Regions from separate parts of the Homo sapiens genome. Here region 2 is linked to region 1. The links are contacts of gene promoters, found by promoter capture Hi-C in blood cells and fetal thymus (Javierre and others, 2016). All regions are on one chromosome and are shown on one strand. Each heading gives the region's core, a stretch centred on a gene start or on the middle of the fragment in contact. The rest is flanking DNA. Distances are from core to core; before and after follow the strand shown. Region 1 holds the start of CALHM6 (calcium homeostasis modulator family member 6). Region 2 overlaps TRAPPC3L (trafficking protein particle complex subunit 3L).

What was found. Contacts are between HindIII fragments. The CHiCAGO score rates a contact against its expected background, and 5 or more counts as called.
Region 2: a contact is called between a fragment that was not itself captured here and the fragment with the promoter of CALHM6 in region 1, in 10 of 17 cell types (total B cells, naive B cells, neutrophils and 7 more). The highest score is 15.0, in total B cells.

The regions. Positions count from the first base shown.
Region 1 is chr6:116,458,452-116,462,624 of GRCh38, reverse strand. It overlaps CALHM6 (calcium homeostasis modulator family member 6), which reads right to left and starts at 1,250. Exons shown (of 3, transcript NM_001010919.3): 1 at 1,196-1,250; 2 at 171-753. The coding sequence starts at 695. It overlaps CALHM6-AS1 (CALHM6 antisense RNA 1), which reads left to right. Exons shown (of 2, transcript NR_174951.1): 2 at 1,431-2,147. It also overlaps the pseudogene KRT18P22. RefSeq lists a silencer at 185-264 and enhancers at 645-724, 735-844. The HindIII fragment of the contact is 9,761 bases long and covers 1-4,173 here.
Region 2 is chr6:116,496,248-116,500,420 of GRCh38, reverse strand. It overlaps TRAPPC3L (trafficking protein particle complex subunit 3L), which reads left to right. Exons shown (of 5, transcript NM_001139444.3): 5 at 3,348-4,173. The coding sequence ends at 3,467. Among named protein-coding and RNA genes, the nearest start is that of CALHM5, 13 kb to the left of the region's middle. The HindIII fragment of the contact is 1,224 bases long and covers 1,872-3,095 here.

The DNA.
Region 1 (4,173 bases), core at 1-2,500:
TTTTATTCAGATATTCTCTTGACGGCAAATTAGATGCAAGGAGCCATTCTAGATTTTCTTAGGGTACTGTATATCTGGAGAAAAGTCACCGATTTTTCCCTCACCCCAGCGGCCCTGAGAAAGCTCGGCCTCTCGGCTCCTCCCAAACGCCCCCAGCGCCAGCGGCAGACCTGCGACTGAGCCTTCAGATCCTTCAGGAGGTCCTGCACGTCCGACGCCTTGGCCTGGTTGCACGGCACCAGCGGCAGCTCCGCGGCGCAGCTGCGGTTGCGGCCGAGGCACAGGCGCTGCGCGAAGGCCGCGCTCCCGGTGGCCGCGCACTCGTAAAAGGCGCCCCCGAGCAGCGCCACGGCCACCCAGGTGAGGGGCGCGAGCGCGGCGGCCGCGCTGATTTGCGTGCACACCAGGGAGCCGCGCAGCGCCGATCCGCAACTCGCGCGGGCGCTGGAGCAGCATCCGGTGAGCAGGCGCCACGTGCGTGCGCTCAGCACGTAGCCCAGGAGGAAGAGCGCGAGCGCCGGCACCAGCAAGAAGACCAGGCCGTAGGGCAGGTTCCAGGCGGCGCTGCACGGGCACTGGAATGCCACGGCGGAGAAGATGCGCTCCCCGCCCGCCGTCAGCAGGGTCACCAGGCCGTAGCCCAAGGCGCTGTGGTGCTTGACGTGCAGGTCCAGCACCGCCCGAAACTTCTCCATGAGCCTCGTCCCCCGGGGCGTCGCGCACAGGCCCAGATCCTTCTGCCTCTTCGTTGTCCTGCTTGTCAAATGGTTTTGGTGGGATGGGGACCGGGGCTTTCCACTCTGCGAGAAGCAGCCTTTTTTTTTTTTTTTTTAAAGGGAAGAGGGCTTCTCAGACCTTCCTAAAGTTTCACTTTCTCATTTCAGCCACACCACCTCTGGTTAACAGAACCAGGCAAGCAAACACCCCCAGGACCTTGACTTCTCTGGCACCCACCCCATTCCAAAGGCAGAGGCACCAGTTATCTTCCTCCCCCAATTCAGGAACTCTGACAGAAGGTTGACCTTGTTCCTTTATTACCACCAATCTGACAACGAACCAGGAAACTAACCTTCTTGACCCACGGCCGCCAGTTGGAAAAACTGGGAAATACCAGATTTTCCTCTATTGCAGCCACCCTAGTTACTAAGCCAGATCACAGTAAAACCAAATAATTATCAAAAAACTGATTACTTACGGGAAACATTATTCAAGGACAAATTTCTGGTTCCTCTTCCATAAGCTAAATCAGCAAAGTCCAGCTCAAGTTCTGGTACTTCTATGATGGGCGGCACCCTTTCCATCTCCCTACCGGACAGAGCCACCAGCCTAGTTCACACTGACTCTTCTCTCCTCTGCCTGATCTCCTTCAGGACATTAGACCAAATATACTGTATTGATTTACTCGTCAATACAATGTTCTTTTCTTTCAGATATGTCATAACACTGTCAATGCCTGGAGGAGAGTAAAATTCTGACTCTGACCACCAAGCTGATCTGCACAGAAGGGGATACATGATTATTCAAAGAATGCTAGTTGAACCCAAAATTTCAAACTGCAGCTACATCTATCTAATGTTGTTTCCTCCACCTTCAGTTTTCTCAAGCAGCGTTGTTCTGACACAAACACTGTAACCACTTTTGTGATATTGAGCCTTACTCTGTGTGACTCCAGACTGAGCTGAGGTGTGCTTGAAAGAACATGGGCTTTGAAGTCAAGTGCATCTTGTCTGTGGTGTGTTTAACAAGTATGCCCCTCTGAGACACAGCATCCTTATTTGTAAAAGAAGGATAATAGTGCCCACTTTTCAAGATTACTGACATGAGTAGATTGAGTAGCATATGTAAAGTGCCTTTACATATAGGATATGTCTGTTAAATGAATGATCAGTGTGAGAGTTTTCCCCTTAAAATGCAATTTGGGGAATAGACAACAAATAATTACATTGTACATAACCTAAGAATCTTGATGAATACTGAATTTTGAATTTTAAACGAGGATCAATTCAGTGGATAGTATTAAGTGACTCAATGACTCTGCTACCTTAAGAGAATTGGTGTACACCTTAGCTGTCTGCTTCACCACAAGGAGAGTATCTGGATATGGAGCTTGGGTGGGCAGTTCACAATGAAATGGTTCTTATTGGTGCCCATCCACCAGGCTTGCCTTATTTTATCTGGAAAGAATAGGTAGCCCATGGAACCAAGTGAATTTTTAGAGAATGGACAAGAAATGTATTATTCTTTTCTTAGTCCAACTTGCCTTCTTAACTACTCCCTCTCCAACACCACCAGCAGGGTGCCTAGCGTAGTGCCAAAAGCTGTCATTCCATAGTGATGTGGTAAATAGACATCTTTTTTCTATGTGTTTAGGGGCCAGCCCCAGATGAGGGTCTTCATGGTCATGCAGGAAAGTTGGGGCCCTCTTCTCTGAGATTAGACCAGATACTGCTAGGCTTCCTGTCAACTTGCAGCAAAGTTGCGTGTTTGAAGCGAATCACTTCTGCTCTGACTGTTATCTTTGTAATTTGTCATCTCCCAAGATAAATTTCTTCCCCTGTGCCTTGAGTAACTCTCCTCTTACTGCTGGACTCTTCTTCACCTCTACCATAATACTCTAAGATGTGTCCTCTCTCGTCCACCCTTTCCCATATTCCATCATGCAGAAACATCACTATATCCACAACCTTTGTGCAGATGGCTTTATCCAAATCTCCCCTAACCGAAACCTAATAAAAATGCATCCTTCTGTCTTCTTGAGTGAGATTAATTTATTCTCCCACATCTCTCAAACCAAGAGGGATGGCTGGCATTTTCCTGGTTACCTGCTGATAGCCATACCAGGGTTTTACCACTGTGCTATAATAGTTTATCATCCACTGAGGCTCAATCTAATCAGCACCATCTCCTCCTTCACCTCATTCCTATGGTCTGTTTTCATTCCCTTCATTTTTTAAGACTCTAATGAAGTCCATCACCTTCTCTTCCCTGGCTTCTGTTATTTAGTCAAGGATTTGTTTGAAATATGTTTACTTACAGAAACTTTTATCTATCAGCCCCCTTCCCCAACTAGATTAATTCATTTGTTAACCAGTTATTAATTAGTTCATTTGTTCATTCAGTCATTCATTTAAATGTTTAATAAGTACTCAGAATATGTCAAGTACCTATCAAAAGTGCCTGGTATTGCTGGATACAACAAGGAAGAAGACACAGGTATCCTGCCGTCTTTGAACTTACAGTAGAGATGATATAGGAAATGGAGAGGAGGGGTCCTAAAGATTACGCACAGGATAAATTGGAGTTAGAGAGTGTCCTGAAAGAGCCTCTGTGAGAAACTGACATTTAATCTGAATGAGTCTGGAGTACAAAGGAGCTTGGTTAGAAAGAAGGCTAGAGTGATGGGAGCATTGAGAATGACAGGCAAGTTGGCACATCATGAGGCCAAAGCTGCAAGTGGAAGGTCAGGTTTAGGTGCTTCACAGACCAGAATATGTAGTCTGCAATTCTGCCTCTGAAACTTTCACAGACTGAGCTGCATCCTGACATATTGTCTTGTCAGCTTGTGTCTCTAAACACCACCTCCTGGGTTTGCTACTTCTGTGCTCTCCCAAACCCAACTCTCCCAGATGCAATGATCATTCAGAACTTAGTACAGGTTTCTATAATTGAGAGTCCAGGTTTTGCCTGCCAGCCTGAATGTTTCCCCAGCACTTGGTCTTGAGTCTAGTACCCTGCCATCCACTCCCACCACCACTGGATTGACTGGTTCTAGCTCTGGGTCTATTGAAGATTCCCAGCCCTCCATACCCAGGTCTGTTCTGAGAGGATATTGCTCAGAAGTTCAGCCCTTAGTGGAAATTGACTAACACCCTAATGGTGTGGAGAGGTAGACTAAATAATATTTTAAATGTCTTTACACTTTTGAAAGCCTGTGATTTGCTTCAGCTGTTAAGAAATGAGTAGTAGAATGTCATCGGTAAAGCCTGAGTCCTGTCCTCTTGCTCTCCTCCCTGGACAGTATGAGCTTCACCACTTGCTCCACCTTCTCCACCAACTACCATTCCCTGGGCTCTGTCCAGACACCCAGCTTCATCGCCCAGCTGGTCAGCAGTGCAGCCAGTGTCTATGCAGGCACCCAGGACTCTGGTTCCCGGATCTCTGTGTCCCGCTCCA
Region 2 (4,173 bases), core at 1,234-3,733, 37 kb before region 1:
AGATAACCAATATACATAATTCATTTTGCTGGGTATATTGGTTATCTAATGGTGTGTTACAAATTACCCCCAAAATGTAGCAGCTTAAAAAAACAAACGTTTATTATCTCACACAGTTTCTGAGGATCAGAAATCTGGGAGCAGCTTAGCTAAGTGGTTGTCATTCAGAGTCTTTCATGGCTTAATACACATGCAGTCAAGCTGCTGGCCAGGGCTGCAACCTCTGGCGACTTGACTGAGGCTGGAGAATCTACTTCCAAGCTCACTCACACAGCCCCAGTGCCTTGCTGGCAGTTGGCAGGAAGCTTCATGAAGTTCCTGGCCACATGGACCTCTTTGTAGATCTAATCACAACATGGCCACTTATGCTGCCAACCCTGGTGCCATGTAGGAGGGTGCTACCTGAGGGTGTGAATAACAGGAGGCAGGGATCATTGACCATTGTGGAGGCTGGATTTTACACCTGAATTATTCATTGGTTTAACTGAAACAGTTATTAGTATCTGCTAAGTGTCAGGCACTGAGTATACACAGATGAACAAGACATAGTTGCTGTCTTTAAAGAATCTTCTGTCTAATGGAAAAGTCAGATGTACAAAGAAGTATAATTAAGGCTATGAGAGGACGTGTGGCAGGAAAAACTTGTAGACTTCCTAAGGAAACTCTAAACTGGCTTTTGAAGGAAAAATAGGAGTTAGATAAAAGCCTTGGGTAAGAGGAGCAGGAGAAAAATAATCTAACAGGTAGAAGAATCAGCATGTCCAAAGGTACAAAAAGAGTGTTTCACTCAAGGAACAAAGAACTTGAATTAGTTCAGTATGACTGACATATAAATTGGGAGACAGATTGTCATGAGAAAGGAGGCTTAAATTCTTTACAGAAGCCTGATTTTAAGAAAAGGGATTCATATGACAAGCTTGGAAATTCAGATTTTTATATTGAAAGCAACAGAAATCAATATAGGTTTATAAACAGTAGAATAATATTTTGAAATTTGTGTTTTAGGAATTTCATTTCTTTATCAACCAAATGAAAGTATATCAGAGGGAACAATGCTGAAGGAAAGGATTAGGGCACTTTGGAAGTTATGATGGTAACCTCAGGTAAAACGAGAACAAAACCCTGACTGCAGGAATGGGGAGAGGAAGACCATTTGAACAACATCAAAAAGATGGAACAGGTTATGGACTAGGTTATGAACTGGCTGAAAGGAATGAAATTGAGAAAAAGATTCAAGAATGATTTGTAAGTTTCTGAGAAACCTGTAGAGATGGTTGTACTATTAAACCAAGAGGAACAAAACCAAGAGGAGTACATCTGGGCTTGGTAGAGACAAAGTGAGGAGTTCGATTTTGAGCCTGCTGGAGTTGAGGTGTTTAACACATGCAAGTGAGGCTATCCAGCAAGCAGTTGTTTATCCCTGTCTGGAGATCACAGAGAGACATGGATTGAAGAAGCATTAGAATAGGAAAAGAATGCCTAGGCAGAGTCTGTAGAGCAAGAATAAAAGGGAGTAACAGAACCATAGGAAGCAATAAAATATAATAAGTAGGTTAAACAGAGGGCACAAAGGCTGAAAAGGATACCAAGAAAAAGAAATCAGAGGTAGGAAAAGAAGGAGTCATAGAAACAAGAGAGGAGATCATTTCAAGAGGACAGACTGATTAATAAGAACAAGTACAGCAAAGAGTCTAAGTTAAACCGGACCTGAAAAATATTCACAACATTTAGGAACCAAAAGACCCAGAAGGGCCTTGGTAAAAGCTCCTTTGGGAAAGTGGAGGAAAAGAAGACAATCTGTCATAGATTGGTGAGCCAACAACAGCTTAAGAAGAGGTAACAGTCAACAAAGTCTCATTTTCCCAGAAGCTTAGCTATTAAGAATGGTGGAACCAGATAGCAACCAAAGTCTTGCCATGTATTGAGCTACCTAATAATGAGGCATGCATGTAATTTTAAATTATTTGTGATAATTAGGGGAAAATAGAATAACAAGTAATCCAAAAGCATAAAACAATAGAAATAATGTATTGTTCACACAGATTCTCCATGCGTCTACCCTAGCATCTTTTTAGACTTGTCCTGTAGTCGGTGGCCATGAGATCAAGGAAGAGGTGGGAAAGCATTATAAGTGTTTATGGGCAAAGGGAAAAACCATAAAACCAAGCCAATAATAGGATAAGAATGTCTTCCACTCTCATAAATAGCAGTTGATTATATTTGCTGAATGACAGCTGGTATCAGACCTCATGTGTCCCCAAATATCCAAATAGCTTCAACATTGTCTCCCTGTTAATTTAATTTATGTTCTGTTAAATTTTGACAAAGACTTAAAAAGTCTTATGGAAGAAAAAGTTGAGGATGAATGTTGCTTCTGTATTTCCAAGTGCAATCTACATCCTCTGTTAAATGGTAGGCATTGCAAGGCCGGGCCCAGTATGAGCCAGATAATTTGGTACACTAATGGTTTAACAAATTGAGGCTGGCTAGCTAAGGAATTCTTAGTGAGAGAGGGGACTGAGTTAGGTAAGATTCAATAAACATCAATTAATTGCCTGCTACATGTGGGCATTTTTCACATATTATTTGCTTTTACTAGGTGCTTTTACTTATTTATCTTATTTTTCCCAATAAATCAAAATAACTCTGAACAAATACACTATTGGGGGTAGGTCAGCAATATCATGCTGCTCTTATGTGGACACATTTTAATGAATAAAGAAGTAAGCCCTGCTTACTTCAGTGCCTGGGAAATGGGAAATACCTTACAGAGAAAAAGAAGGCCTGAGTATCAAATATTCATGTCTGTAAATTCAATCTTTAATTTTATATCTATAATTCATTTAATTGATATTATTCTCAAAGCTCTCAAAGCCATAAGTGACTGCTAAATGTTGTTAGGATAAGTGATTATGTTATTCAGCTAATGACAGAATGATTTATGGCAAATCTGTTTGAGAGCAATCATTTAAGAATCCATTTATTCTTGGAAATTCTGCTGGCTAAGCACAGTGGGTCAAGGCTATCCCCGAGCTGGGAATTTGTGTTCTTCTGAAGATGGATCCAGAGTTCAGCCTTGCACATTGAGCTAAGCTTGGCAGAGGCTGGGTGTCCCAGTCATCCTAGTTGGCCTGGACCACCCTCCTCTTTGCAGATTCACACCACAGAGCTGACACACAGCTGGACCATCTCCGGAGGACACTCAGTAAAGGGCCCTTTATCCACGAACAAGCTTTTTTAAAAATCATTTCTTAAGGAAAGTAAAGAAAGCTGAAAAAAGACTGAGAAAATTTAGTTTTTTGTTTTTTAATTGAATGACACAGGCCTGTTTTTTTCTTCTTTCCTAGGTTCATTTGGCGGCTGATGTTACATTCTTGCAAGACAGACTAAAAGGTGACAGTGTGACAGAAATAGGAATAACATTTCTAAAAAAGCGAGACGAGAAAAAATATAGAGGGAAAAAATGAAGACTAGCACGGAAAATGCCACGGGGCGGCTAGCTGAGTTAATGTTAGCTAAACATGTATAGACATAGAAATTTTGAATTGCTTCATAGCATGAGCTTTGAAAGGTTTATAAATCAGCCAGAAATTTGAAATGCAGGGCATGAAGGCTTAAAGGTTTTTTTTTCCTTTTGCTTATAAATCACGCATTTTCAATCTCATGTCCACAAAATTTCATATGCAAATAGCTCCTTACAAGATAGCAGGCAGGAATTCCACATCTTACACTATCCATCCTCAGAGAAGCTGTTCATTCCATTCACGTATGGTAATGGGAAAAAAAAGCAGCACAAATACAAACAGTTGTGTATTTGTCTCTTTGCTGAAAAAAAAAGAATGAAATGATATAGCATAGAGTTTCCTATATATAGACAGTAGTTTCTAGATACTGTATATTGCATTCCTTAAATAAATAATTCCATATTTCTAAAAAAATATGATTTGATTTTTCTCATGTATTAGCTTGGCTTATAGCTTTAGCCTTCTGACGCTACCCTTGATTTGTAATCACCAAGTCAAGCTATTTATTCAATGATAATTTTGAAACATTTATAAATAACATTTAATTTTAATTTATTTAGTTTTAATATAGCTGGCATCAACCAAATTCCTTCCTTTTCTCATGAAATATTGCTTGATGGTCAGGCCAGGAAACTTCTAAAATAAAGGA